Linked DNA regions of Homo sapiens: regions 1, 2, 3 and 5 are each linked to region 4. Evidence: promoter capture Hi-C in 16 types of primary human blood cells and fetal thymus (Javierre and others, 2016). All regions are on one chromosome and are shown on one strand. The core of a region is centred on a gene start or on the middle of the fragment in contact, and the rest is flanking DNA. Distances in the headings are between cores, read along the strand shown. Region 1 overlaps TRD-AS1 (TRD antisense RNA 1). Region 2 overlaps TRD-AS1 (TRD antisense RNA 1). Region 3 has its middle 9.2 kb from the start of OR6J1. Region 4 holds the start of LINC02332 (long intergenic non-protein coding RNA 2332). Region 5 has its middle 3.6 kb from the start of TRD-AS1.

The links. Contacts are between HindIII fragments. The CHiCAGO score rates a contact against its expected background, and 5 or more counts as called.
Region 1: a fragment that was not itself captured here is called in contact with the fragment with the promoter of LINC02332 in region 4 in 1 of 17 cell types (total B cells); the score reaches 5.0 in total B cells.
Region 2: a contact is called between a fragment that was not itself captured here and the fragment with the promoter of LINC02332 in region 4, in 1 of 17 cell types (total B cells). The highest score is 5.7, in total B cells.
Region 3: a contact is called between a fragment that was not itself captured here and the fragment with the promoter of LINC02332 in region 4, in 3 of 17 cell types (M0 macrophages, M2 macrophages and M1 macrophages). The highest score is 12.9, in M0 macrophages.
Region 5: a fragment that was not itself captured here is called in contact with the fragment with the promoter of LINC02332 in region 4 in 1 of 17 cell types (total B cells); the score reaches 6.3 in total B cells.

Annotation. Positions count from the first base shown.
Region 1 is chr14:22,432,515-22,435,214 of GRCh38, forward strand. All of the region lies in intron 2 of TRD-AS1 (TRD antisense RNA 1), which reads right to left. It also overlaps TRA and TRD. Among named protein-coding and RNA genes, the nearest start is that of TRD-AS1, 49 kb to the right of the region's middle. RefSeq lists an enhancer at 827-886. The HindIII fragment of the contact is 2,236 bases long and covers 246-2,481 here.
Region 2 is chr14:22,463,065-22,465,764 of GRCh38, forward strand. The region is part of intron 2 of TRD-AS1 (TRD antisense RNA 1); the gene reads right to left. It also overlaps TRA, TRD and TRDC. Among named protein-coding and RNA genes, the nearest start is that of TRD-AS1, 19 kb to the right of the region's middle. RefSeq lists enhancers at 1-1,029, 1,452-1,671. The HindIII fragment of the contact is 670 bases long and covers 958-1,627 here.
Region 3 is chr14:22,652,172-22,654,871 of GRCh38, forward strand. No RefSeq gene overlaps it. Among named protein-coding and RNA genes, the nearest start is that of OR6J1, 9.2 kb to the left of the region's middle. The HindIII fragment of the contact is 1,752 bases long and covers 472-2,223 here.
Region 4 is chr14:22,555,655-22,558,354 of GRCh38, forward strand. LINC02332 (long intergenic non-protein coding RNA 2332) reads right to left here and starts at 1,408. Exons shown (of 3, transcript NR_146543.1): 1 at 1,297-1,408; 2 at 1,138-1,199; 3 at 657-868. LOC105370399 (a long non-coding RNA gene) reads left to right here and starts at 912. Exons shown (of 2, transcript XR_007064066.1): 1 at 912-1,912. RefSeq lists enhancers at 454-553, 604-943, 1,804-2,013 and a silencer at 1,054-1,103. The HindIII fragment of the contact is 9,123 bases long and covers 1-2,700 here.
Region 5 is chr14:22,485,193-22,487,892 of GRCh38, forward strand. It overlaps TRA, TRAJ52 and the pseudogene TRAJ51. Among named protein-coding and RNA genes, the nearest start is that of TRD-AS1, 3.6 kb to the left of the region's middle. The HindIII fragment of the contact is 4,249 bases long and covers 1-2,700 here.

The DNA.
Region 1 (2,700 bases), core at 114-2,613, 120 kb before region 4:
TTTGAAAGATTCCTGAGATACAGGAGTATGGATTCCTGCAGCTGATTCCTTTATGTGACCCAGTAAGGATAAAATCGAAAAAAGGAACTAAACGAAATACACTCTTGATTAATCAAAGGGGATTGAAAGTCGTGGCTAACCTCACACCTACCTTGCATCACCTCCAGCTCACCTCCCTTGAGACACTCCTCCTCTTCTTTAATGCCTCATCATGATTCTCAAAAACTGTGATCACTCAAGGTTGAAGCTTTTAATCTCCCATGTATAAAAGGATATGCAAATAGAGTTCAGTTTCCTGTTGAGTCTCTGCCAAGGTCTTAGCCTGGCAGTTCTGGGAAAAGAGCCAAAGACCTCATATTTCTTGGCTGTTAACATTCTCCCATCTGTGCTCAAGTCAGCAGCCTAGGCTTCAGGCTGTGGTTTGTCTTTAGTCTTACACTTTCCCAAGTTTTCTGAAGGAACCCTTTAGAATGTTCCTGCAAGAAAGTAAGATACAAGTGGCTCCCAAGAAACCAGACAGAGGATTATCTGGTTATATTTGGAGGCAGTAAGAAAAAGACCAGGAAGTCTATATTCCTATAGTATATAGCCACAGAATCCAATCTTGCAAGCTACTTGAAATGCTGATATTAATTAAGTCTTAGGCAGGGCTTTCAATAAGTCATCTGTGTCTCCAATATGGGATGTCCCACATCATGCATATGCACAGTGAAAAAAAGCGAGGTCCTTGGGTACAGTACAGCATTCAAAAATTAAAGATCTGAAAAACACAAGACATCTCAGTGTGCTTCCGGGCTGGAGGCTCTGCTAAACAACAGAAGCAGAGACCGGACTAATTGTCCCCCATGTCTCTTTGACTGAACTCACACAAAATAGAATCTACCATTTTTACTCAGTGCGGGGTACCCAGACTCAAGTTTACTGCAATGTTGTTACCAATATTCTAATGGAAAATTATATATTCAGAGCTATGTTAAATTTGACCATTTATTAAACATGAAATTTCTACTTTTTCTGTAAGTGCCTTGTCTTACTTGTATTTCCCGGTATTTCCCTTCTAAAGCTAACTCCCCAAAGGGCTTTCCTGTATGTTCTCACTTCCATTACAAAGTCAATGTACAAGTTAATTTTTTTAATTTCTTTAGAAACCTTTATAAAGAGATTTCCTCCTTCATTTCTCTGTTATCCCAGGCAGCTGTCAGGAGCAAAGAGCTCAAGCCTGCACTGCCTTGGAACAGGACATCAGCAAAAGACACTCTCAATCTACTCAGAAGGCTGAGGTGGGAGGATTGCTTGAGCCAGGGGTTCAAGACCAGCCTGGACAACTAAGTGAGGCTCAGTCTCAAAAAAAAAAAAAAAAGATCTCAATATTATTGTTCCATACCCAGTCATTCACTTGGTGTTTTCTGCAGCATTTATTTATAAATATCTCAGTCTGTTCTTAATCCTTGAGCCTATATTTTTTAAAATCATACTTTGATATCTACTCAGAGTATTGATTCTCTTCAAATTTCCCACCTCTTAGTTCTCCTCCCACTCTCTCCCACCCTGAGCCTTACACCTCCAACAATGATCATTCTAAGACCATTTATATCTCAATAGGAAAGTGATGTAAAACGGGTCTCCTTACTCTGTTTTGGAGGGTTTTTTTGTTGTTGCTGTTGCTTGCTTCTCTGTCCCACCCCAAACTCATGTGTGTCTGAAATTTAGCACCACCTTGCGACGTTTGTGAGCATTTTTCTCAGAGCAGCATTTTGAGACTGAGCCTGAACTCCACTGATGTTATGACCCTTAAAAGTGTCTGGCTCCAAAAGACTAAGGAGTTCCTGCGTAAATCCAGGTCCAGCTACTTCATCACTGTGACTTGTTATTGGAAAAGGTTGAGCTATCAACATATTGCTCCTGTAAAGGCTCAGAACTGAATCTTAGATTCTTCAGGATATTTGAGTCCTCTGAGGCTCCTGGGTAAAGACTCCAATGTAGCAGTTCTGTGGACTATAAATGGGAGATATCCAGATCATACACCTTCAATGGAAGAAAAAGCACTGTCACCTTAGACGACTCCAACTCTGTAGTCTACTTTTGTCTTCCTAATATCATACCTCATTCTCCAGTGGGTTTATGGCAAGCCTCATCTACTCAGAAGTAACCAAGTACAAGCCAACACACTCTTGTGTTAGTGTGGAGGCCCAAAGTGGCATAAGTGAATGTGACTCCAGATGAAAACCTTCCCCTCTCCAACACAAAGATGCCAAAGACTATGTATAAAGCAAGTCTTAAATCACTCTATATTTCCATTTGAATATATTTCCCCAGTTCCTGTGCATTGCTTCTGCATACACAGAATTCAATGATAAAAATTGAGACTGTCTCCTAGATACAGTAATTAACTCAGCTATCAATGCCAATTGACTGTGTAGAGGGGAGACAATTTTGTACCAAGATTTACTAACCTCTATTTTAATGGAAAAACAATGGAAAAGCTTTCTTCCTACTATGACTCTCTCTGGATAAATTGCTTGCCAGGAAGCGTTAGGATAATTCTGCCATGACTCTTTGTCTTCCACACCCAAAGACATTTGGTCTCCATCACATATGGAGGAAGGATCTCCTTGTTCAGCAGTATTTACACCATCACCCTGACACCCGCAGTCAGATCTAACTATACAGCTTGGCTAATAAACCTGGAGAAGCTCATAT
Region 2 (2,700 bases), core at 43-2,542, 93 kb before region 4:
TCCTGCTATTGTCATCTCTCCCAGTGGGAAGTACAATGCTGTCAAGCTTGGTAAATATGAAGATTCAAATTCAGTGACATGTTCAGTTCAACACGACAATAAAACTGTGCACTCCACTGACTTTGAAGTGAAGACAGATTCTACAGGTAGGCCATTTCTAGCTTCAAGGAGCTGGAGATTATGGGGAACAAGAATTGGGTGAAAGGGAAGTTAGAGATGTAACTGTGGACAAATCATTCTCAGTATAGCATCATGCTGGAAATAAGACTTAGGCCCAACTATAGCCTGCCATTGGCAGGGGAGGGAAATGCTTGTCATCCCTAAGATGGAATCTAAAATAAAGCCCATCTTATTTCTTCCTCATCTCTCCTCTTTACCTACCACTGTCCCCTTCATACTAGACTCTGGGATTGAAAGTCCTCGTGCATTCTAATCCAGTGCTAAATTCCAACAAAGGGCAATGCGGCCTATTGTGGGGCTAAGAATCCTAGTTCTTCCCGCATATTGGTGTGCCTGGATGTTGACCTCATGGTACAATGAAAAAGGCTAGAATGGGAAGCATGTTGTATAATTAGCTATGTGACCTTCACCAAGTCACATCCTCTGGTCCTCAGTTCACTCACCCAAAGTCTCCTCCAGTTTTAAAAGCCTACAATCCTGTGAGCCTCTTCATTCCCAATGTAACCCTGACCACTGCTGTTTGTTCCAGATCACGTAAAACCAAAGGAAACTGAAAACACAAAGCAACCTTCAAAGAGCTGCCATAAACCCAAAGGTTAGTTCAAATCAAAGGGCCAACTTCAGAATCAAGGGTTAAAGCAAACTCTGTAATTGTCCACTGGGGCCAAAATGTATCAGATTTCAAAAGAAAACACAAACCATGCTGAGCCCAGTTGGTTCTGCAGAGCCTCTGACTCTCCCAGCAAGGCTTACCTGGCTGTCGGCATCGGTTTCCCAAGCTTGCCTGGCTGGGTGTCAGCAGCAGCCTAAGGTCTCTGACGGCTATCTGGCACCATGCTGGACTTGCAGGCCAGAAAGAACTAGGCAGACTTGGGGCAGGCTAATATCAGTGTTGCAGGCCCAATTTCTGGAAGGGAATTTAATCTCTCCCTGAAGCCACCCTCTTCACTCTTTTTCAGCCATAGTTCATACCGAGAAGGTGAACATGATGTCCCTCACAGTGCTTGGGCTACGAATGCTGTTTGCAAAGACTGTTGCCGTCAATTTTCTCTTGACTGCCAAGTTATTTTTCTTGTAAGGTAAGAATTAGCCGCTTCTTATTCCTATCTCTACCCACACCATGCTGCACATGGGGAAAGGGGATTTAGAAATGGCTAAGAAACCAAGAAGCATTGGAAAGGGAAAATAGAGACATACTTAGAATTAATAAGGTAGGCTATCTCAGCTACTCAGCAAAACAGCACCCCATTTCCTGTTATCCTTTCATTTTGAGTCAGACTGAAACCCATTAGGTAGTATAATGTACTATTTTTCTAATATACCAGAGAATAACCCTCACTTTCACTCCAGGGAGAAAACTGAAGATAAATAAGGAGAATTCATCTTCTTTACTGCTATTTTGTTCATCGACCAAGAGACCATGGGTTATTTGCAAGGCCATAAGTAAAGCTTTGCCTGAAGACTATCCAGAGGAAGCAGAACCTATCTTTGTCCTGATAAAGGGAATGCCAGCTCACACTCCTTAATCATAGGACCAGCCTGTCTATGTGTGGATCAGCCTGTCTTTGGGATGAACCTACACACAGCATTAGTAGTGAACAGCTCACTATTAGCTACTCAGGATGCATACACAGTTAGGTTTGAGATGTCAATTATTTGCCTGTTACTTGCATTCCGTTCTCAGGTAATCTCATACACGAAATTGAAACCAGGGCCTGGGTTTGCGTGTGAGGCTTCTCCCCCTCACTCCTTCTCCAATACTCACAAATGCTCATCAACCCCAGCTTCTGTTCTAGGAACAACCCTAGACTCAGAGTACTTGACTGATCTGACCCAGACAGTAAACATACCCAGTCATCTCAAAAAGGGGGTCCAGCTCACCTGTTATTTTACTAACAGTCCCAGGGACACAGGCAGTGTGGCTGGGTAAAAAGAGAGCTATACTAAGAGTCAGAAGATCTGGGTTTTATCCTGATTTTGACACTAACTTACATGTTACCTTAGCCAGGTTTCTTCATCTCTCTGGGCCTGGGTTTTTGCATCTGCAAAACAAATGAGTTAAAAAAAATAATAACCAAAGGAGAACAAAAGAGTCTCATGACTTGTGCCAACACTGATAGCTGAACTAGCTGAGCTATTGCCATGTGTACATGGAAAGTGAGCCACAATAGATTAGTGATGTCTGCAATGGTACAGTATAGCAAGTACCGGCCAACCCCAGACTACATGACCCCTACGATTCCTTCTAGCACTGGCAGTCTATTCTATAACAACTTTCTTCACTGCAGGCTGACTGGCATGAGGAAGCTACACTCCTGAAGAAACCAAAGGCTTACAAAAATGCATCTCCTTGGCTTCTGACTTCTTTGTGATTCAAGTTGACCTGTCATAGCCTTGTTAAAATGGCTGCTAGCCAAACCACTTTTTCTTCAAAGACAACAAACCCAGCTCATCCTCCAGCTTGATGGGAAGACAAAAGTCCTGGGGAAGGGGGGTTTATGTCCTAACTGCTTTGTATGC
Region 3 (2,700 bases), core at 98-2,597, 96 kb after region 4:
CAGCCTGGCCAACAAGGTGAAACTCCGTCTCTACTAAAAACACAAAAATTAGCCAGGCATGGTGGTGGGTGCCTGTAATCCCAGCTACTCAGGAGGCTGATGCAGGAGAATCGCTTGAACCCGGGAGGCGGAGGTTGCAGTGAGCCAAGATCGTGCCATTGTTCTCCAGCCTGGGCAACAACAGCGAAACGTCATCTCAAAAAAAAAAAAATTGAAAAATTGAAAAGAAAAAGAAAAATAGTGCCAGGGATGCAAGTACTGCCAGCCTCAAAGCACCTCGAGGCACTGATGCCGCTGGCATTTGCACACCTCAGCCTGGACTCTGCAGCGGCTGACAGGCACGTCTGCATCTTATCACTTAATAAACATTCATTGACACCTCCTATATCTTAGGCACTTTTGGTACATGCTGGAACACATTAGAGAACAAATCCAGTCCTTCCCCTCCAGGCATTTTTAGTCTAGAGCAGAAGCTTCAGAGTGTTCTAGCTTCAGAATTGTTCTTCAATTATACAAAAAAGGCCAGGCACGGTGGCTCATGCCTGTAATGGGAGGCCGAGGCGGGTGGATCACCTGAGGTCGGGAGTTTGAGACCAGCCTGACCGACATGGAGAAACCGCGTGTCTACTAAAAATACAAAATTAGCCCAGCTTGGTGGCACACGCCTGTAATCCCGGCTACTCGGGAGGCTGAGGCAGGAGAATCGCTTGAACCAGGGAGGTGGAGGTTGCAGTGAGCTGAGGTCGCACCATTGCACTCCAGCCTGGGCAAGAAGAGCAAAACTCCATCAAAATAAATAAGTAAATGAATAAATAAAATTATACAAAAAATTGTGTGTTTATGTAGATTGAGAGGGAGATGAGAACAGTCAAATTCTCAAATGGCTTTTTGACCCAGAAAAGGTTAAGAGCCTCCTAGTTGGGACCATCCATATCCCTCATTTCTAAATTCTTAGCAACTACCCCAGCACTTACTGACAGCACCTCTTGGGCATCTCTAACCTTTTGCAGTGTTCACAGTGCCTTCCTCACCAGCTCGTGGCAGACTCCTGGTGGAAGAGGAGGGAAGCACACCTCATTGTTGACATTGCCTCCTAGTTCCCGGGGAGCTCCATTCCAGGAAGGAATTTAACCAGGGAGTGGCTGTCCCTCTCTTTTGGATAACTTTGGGCTTATCCAGCGGACAAACCACTGCCTATTCCCTGACAGGCAGACTGACTCGGGGACATTTTTTCCCTGCCAAAGTACTGCTTGCTTCCCAAGACTTCTCCAGACTAAACATCCATTGACTGAGATGAAATATTACACTTTTCTTTTCCAAAGGGTCAAAGGGATTTCAGCAAGGTTCAGACTAAGGAAAAGAGGGCTGATTTGTGAATACACTGGGAAGAGCATTTTGGTCTAATGGTCTTATTTCTCATCCAAATTAATAACATGTCACTCTTGAGAACATTTTTGTTAATGACGCCTCAAAACACAACCCACCCAGCCCCAGACTGTGAGCCTTCAAAGACAAAGACAGGTCCCCGGCCTTCCCTTGGATGGCCCTACCGTTCTCTTCCCAGATGTTTTACGAGCCTGCTAATTTTTGTAAGATGTAATAAAATATATTTAAGGGAGAAAAAATGTACTAGACTGTTTTAATGAGCTTGAGCATCTATATTTTTGAAAATGTAATGTCAAGAAGCCAGGGAAAGTTGTTTTTTAAATTACCAGGAATTTTCTGATTCCACTTTTGGAGGAGACTTTGTTTGTTTATTTGTTTGTTTGTTTTTGAAAAACACTTCAATGGCTTTATGGCAGTAAAGCCAAAATCATATTCTCAGTAGCTTAAGACCGTGCTGAGCTACACAGCTCACCTTCATGACGCTGAGATGGCCTGCACTGTGGGAAGAGATCCCTCTCTACAGGTTAGGATGTGTCTTGAGAGGTGAGTCTGGGGCCACCATGGGGTTTTCCCTTCTCACTGGGCCTCCTGATCAGGGTCCAGCACCTGGCAGGGGAGTCATAGCAAATGGACCAGTGACAGACATGAGCAAAGACACTCCACGACAGAAGATAAGTCTCATGATAATGTGGCAGCAGAAAGAGAGATGAGCAGTGGGAGAGAAAAAACAAAATACCCTATCCAGATGAATGGCTGGTGGACTTTAAGAACAATAATCTCCTATATCTCATTGGATTTTTTCCCTCTTTCCTACACAATCCCCTCCTGTTATTCCAAAGCTTTCAATGAAACAGGGGTTACAATGGGCCTGACATACTCGGCAGATAATGTCATGGCATTGGTAAGAGTGTAGTAGTCAGGATGATCAGAGGTCACTCTCATTGCCATCTTGGTTTTGGTGGGTCCGCACTTGGTATGAGGAGGGGCGGGGAAAACAGGAGCAGTTGGAGAAACTCATCACAAGGTAGCCAGAAGTGACCAGCAGATCCCCAGAAGCAGCAGGGATCTGCAGGAAATGTAAGCCTTCGCTGATGGTTACATGTGAGGGGAACCAGAAAACTGCTAAAGTTGCAGTGGCTGATCACGACAAGGGCTTAGACTAGTAATTGTAAGCACTAAAGGAAAGGGTGGCTTTTGTAGACCAAAGAAATCAGACTTTGGAGTTAGTTTCTTAAATTGTATCAAAACAATTCATGGCCAAATGTTGTGAATGTTATGAACAGTAAGATGCAAAGGAGTTTAGAAGAAGGAGGG
Region 4 (2,700 bases), core at 158-2,657:
TTGTCATCAATGTGTCCCCAGGAACTAGAACAGTGCCTGGCACACAACAGATGCCGTTAAATGAATAAGTGAATGACTCCTGCAGTTAGGCTCTGGGTGGGGGGAGCTGAGTGTGAGGAGTGGGGAGTACAGGAGAAAGGAAAGTGGGGATTAGTAGAGGAAGTGGTCAGGTGAGTCAATGCTTCACAGTTTTGCCAAGAGCTAAAGTAACTTGTCAAGAACTTCAGAACAAGGAAAGCCTGAGTGGTGGCCCCTTGCTCAGGGCAGCCCCCAGGCAGGCACACATCTATCCAACAAAGCCTGGAGGACAGGGACTGTGGTAAATCACGCAGGGTACCTGGGAGTCTGACCTCACTGTGTGACCACACTGAGGTCCAGAGCCAACAGTCACTTTATGTGGGTTCGCCTCAGTTTCTCCATGAGTCCTACTCTAAAACCCATCTACCTCCGTGAGCCATGTGTGGGAAGACGAGCTTCTGACTGGGATGAGTCTGGGGGAGCAAGCACATGGAGACCCAGTGCTGTCATTCTGGCTGCCGGAAGGCTGCAGGACCACCAGCGCCCTGCGTCTGTGTCAAGGCCACCTGGGCAACGCGGCGAGGGGTGGGGAGTGCAGGCCTCCTTTCACACAGAGACACACAGGCCTGAGGCCTCTCTGGGTAGCACACATAGAGCTATATTTTGCAATTAATAAACAGGTCAGACATTGAGTCAGTAGCCACAAGTAGAACAGGAAGTGGAAAAAGTCTCCCACTTCCCTCCAGGTGTTTGGGGGCTGGGGCGGTCCCCTCCCATTTCCATGACGTCATGGTTACCAAGAGGGGCAAGTAGGGCACCCTTTGAAGCTCTCCCGCAGAAGCCACATCCTCTGGAAAGAAGAGTTTAAAATACTGAGTTAGAGATAGCATCGCCCCAGGCCACGTGCCGAGGGGAGCAGGCTGGGCCGTTACACCACCCCCCAACCGCAGGTGCAGCAAGGCCAACATGCCAGGCTGGGAGGGGCTGCCGGCCCCTCGGTGACTTGCACCGGGCCCGCAAGCAGGCTGGGGAGGTGCTGCTGGCCCCACCGCTGAGCCGCCTCCCTCACCGCACCTCTGCTGCCCCTCCAAACCAGCCAAGATCAGACCTTGATCTCACCTGATTAAGCGCTTGCTTAGTACAGGGCAGACCCTCGAGACTTATGCTCAGGCCAGTGTCTCCTGGGAGGGAAGGAGGTGGGGAGGCCGTATTTGCCCCCACACAGAGCTAGGGCTGATTCTCTGAGGGACCCCCCCCCAATAGCACCTCCCCCCTTACCCTGATGCTTGTCCATTAGGTGATGGCCCTAATGGACGCCTTGATGGACACGTCCGGGACCCAGGGACCCGGAGACCAGGAATCTGCTGGTCTCAGGGAGCCGCAGAACCTGAAACCCAAAAATACCAGGCTTGATCGCCTGCTCTTCGGTAGTGTCGCCATCCACCCGCATGGGGGCAGCAGCGCTCCACCAAAAAGACCTCTTCTCCCTTTGTCTGTTAATTCTGGAGATAGAAAGCCCCCAAAGTTTAGGAAAAGCTCTTTTCCGAGGAAAATAAAAGGGCAGGTGACTTTTATCCCACAAGTCCCTGCCCTGTGCCCGTCACTGCGCTGGGCGCAAGGCCTGTGTCATCCTGTCACATCCCCCCCCAAAGGAGAGGAGGGCCTGGGGCCTGGGCCGGCAGCAGGGGGCGCTGTTCGTCCGGGATCGTCAGACCCGCTCCACCCGGAGCCCTGGAGGAAGTGCCCAGGGAGGGCTGGGGGCCCGGAGGAGGCCTTGGGTTCGGAATTAGGCTGGCTGGAGTCCGGGATCCACCACATCATACACTCGTGCCTTTGGCAGGTCACTAACCGCCCACCGCCTCAGTTTCCCGGTGGGACGAACTCTCTCTCACAGGTAGTTTAAGAACCAGGCTTTCTTTGGCATTGTATACCTGCCATGTGCCAGGCTGTGTCGTGCTCTGGGGATTCAGTCTCTGTGCAAACTATGACTCCATACAGATGAAGTCCAAGAACAGGCAAAACGCATCACAGGTGATAGAAATTAGGGCACTGTTTGCCTCTGGGGTAGAAGGATGGATTGAAAAGGGGCACGAGGAAACCTTCAGGGGTGGTGGAAATGTTCCATATCTTTATCTTGGGTGATGGCTATATATATATCAAATGCATCATTAGTGTATTTTCATGTAATTATGCCTCAAGAAAGTACTGCTCCCATTAAATACACACACACACACACACACACACACACACAGAGTTTCTGTCTTCAAGGAGTTAACAGTCCAGTGAGTAGTGGGTATGAAAGAGATGTGTTAATGGCTGCAATTGCAAGACAGAGGCTTTTGTTACTATATTCTCCTCAGGCAGGAGTCCTCAGGCAGGAGGCAGGAGAACCAGTTGTTTGTCCCTAAGCGTCACTGCCCCTCACTAGCCTTCTCTCCTGGGGCCTTTAATTTTTCTGAGTCCCCATGTGTTATTATTCACATAGAGATAAAAATACCTGCCCACCTATTCTCAGTGTTGTTGAAGGGATTGAAAGCAGTAATGGGTGTGGAATGCTTAGTAAACTGAAATCCCAGTGCAAATATGAAGTGGGAATGCATCAGAATGCCCAGGAAGACGAACCATGACCCGAACAAGATGGGCTGGGCCAGGTCAGATGGCACTGCCATACTGAGAAAAAAG
Region 5 (2,700 bases), core at 67-2,566, 71 kb before region 4:
GAGGTGTCTGTTTTTCACACCCCTGGGGGACAGGGTTTGATCATCACCACATCATGAAACTGCCTGGATTTTGCTCTTCACATTTTTTGTGACATCCAGACACAGCCAGGGTGACTCCCAGGATTCCTGTGGTTGTGTCTGTTGGCAACAGAAGCATTATTTGGTCAAGGGATGAAATTTACAGGAACCCCAAGTAAATGTGCAAAAGCCTGCCCCTAATAGAGACCTCACTTAACCCTACCACTGTGGTCACCGGGCTGCTCTGTGAGGTCAGAACACCTCAGGTGAGACTGTGGAGTAACCAGATGTCCTGGTTTTCCTGGGTTTCAGGGGTTTTCCAGGACAAAGGTCATTCTTTGCTAAGCCCAGAATGATCCCCAGGATAGTTAATCACCGTAAGAAGGCACAGATAAAAACTTTTTTCTGTGAGCTACTACTTACATTTCACCAAATTCAAGACTGACAAAAAAACTACGTTGTGTGAAAGCTCAGTTACATGTGCCCATCATTTTTATTTCTTATGCTAGGGCATGAAGGGAAGCTCAGGAGATCCTGTTTCATGAGGCTACAGTCTAAATCTCATCTAATTCTAGTCATTCTCCAAAAAGCTGAACACTCTCCTCTTGTCTCCTTGTAATCAATTCATTGTCATCAGAAATGTGTGACACCTCGAGGGGAGGGGAGGACGTGTCTTGAAAACTGATCAGAGAAATTGTCCTGAAAATGATGCTGTAAAATGGAAATGAGACCTTTAGAAAGAGAGATGCTGAACATGAGAAATCAGTAAGCCTCAAGACAAAAACCAGAGGAAATGGAGAGAGATGGGAGGCAGGAAGCCGGACCTCGGGGGACGCAGCAGGTCAGTGTCCCAGGACCAGAGGTGGAAATGGTCTTCCAGCCTTTGGTGGGATGAAACTGAGCCTCACAGACCCAGGCCCCTTTGGGTGAGTTTATTCTCCCCAGAATTAAAAGAGGAGGAAGTCTGCGAGCTTCAGAAGTCCCCCTAGGGTTCTTGTAAAGGCCTCCAGTGCAGTGCTAATGCTGGTGGTACTAGCTATGGAAAGCTGACATTTGGACAAGGGACCATCTTGACTGTCCATCCAAGTAAGTGTAACAAGACACAGCAGTATACTGGAAATTCTGGAATGTCACCCCAGTGTCAGGTTTTAAAGAACCAGATATTGCTTAAAGTTAAGTGGTGTCCTCTGAGGTCCTTTCTCTTCTTTAACCTCAATATTCACAGATTTTCTTTTGGACCCTGAGTTGTTAGGTCTGTCTCCCTGCTGCGTGTACAGCTGACCTTGACCCTGGAAAGTCAGAATCTTTCCTGCTTTCAGTGTCTTCTCTGGAGGTGATGCCCTAACTTTTTTGAGGGGGAGGTCATCCTTTCCAAATGACTCCCCTGAGTAACCTGTTCTAATGTTTAGTAGCATTCCCTGTCAGAAGTCCTTCCTTACCTCAATCTTAAATTATTCTTGGTATAGCCGAGGCCGTTTCCACCAGCATCATCCACAATAAAGAGGAAAATTGAGAGCGGAGTTTGAATAGGTATGTGGTATTTGGTTCAGAATGGGTTTTAAATGAAAGTGGAGAGGGAAAAAATGAAACCTGAATGGGAATCTGAGGTCTTATTTCAAATCCCTCTCTGTTTCCTGTCTGTCATCTCCTTTTGCTTCTATAGATGCAAAACTACAGAGAGAGAGGCGGGGAGAGAAAGGATAGACAGAAATAAACATCCACTGTGTCCATTCCCTGTCACTGAAACCACCAGGCAAGGGATTACAATTAATTCCAAAGAGTTTCAGATACACGGCTTAATACCTTTCTCCTTGTGGTGACTTGTATCCTGGCTGATAATTAGAGCAGATAGAAAGATTTGGCTTTGGTGTGTTTGCCGCTGCACCCCGCTGGGAAGAGACAGAAACTTGACTGTTTTTTAAGATTCATAAAGTTCCTTCTGTCAGTCGTTGTAAAACTCCCTGAAGCAGGGAGATGCGTGACAGCTATGAGAAGCTGATATTTGGAAAGGAGACATGACTAACTGTGAAGCCAAGCAAGCTGGAAAGACCTAAACTCACAGTGTTCCTTATGTACTTTTGCTCCCTTCCCCGTTTCAGGCCTTTTGGCTGTTTCCTGTAGGGATTCTAAGAGAGTCAAATGGAAATGGATTGAAGAGAGTCTGAAGCCCCGTGGGTGCTCAGAAATGATAAATGAAAGGAATAAGAGACAGAAAGGGAAACAAAGTTGAAAAGCAGGAATATGTCTTTCACTGCAGCTTGATAAGACTGAGATGTGAGGTGGGTGTCAGAGAAGGGCATGATCGCTCCAGCTGCTATTGCAGAACACTCTGTTTTCCTAGGATCTCTATCAAGGGCAGTGTCCTCTTATGCCAAAGGGATGAGTCAAGTCCCTATATTTCTGGAGTAGCTGCCCTTGTGCAGGCATAGTTGGTCAGGCAGACAGCACAATCCCAGCTCAGTGTGTATGGAGGAGGCCACCTGACATTGCCAGCTGTATCTGCTCCATTCAGTGGCAGCATAAATCCATACCAGGTGGGTGTGGATTTGGAATATGCCAGTGCCACTACAAGGCTGAATGTTGAGTTGTTGTGATCATCTTGAATGTGTGAGATGCCTCCAAGTGAAGTCTGGTTCTAATGAGCAGGGTGCAGGTTGGACCAATATTGCCCATTTTCTGTTG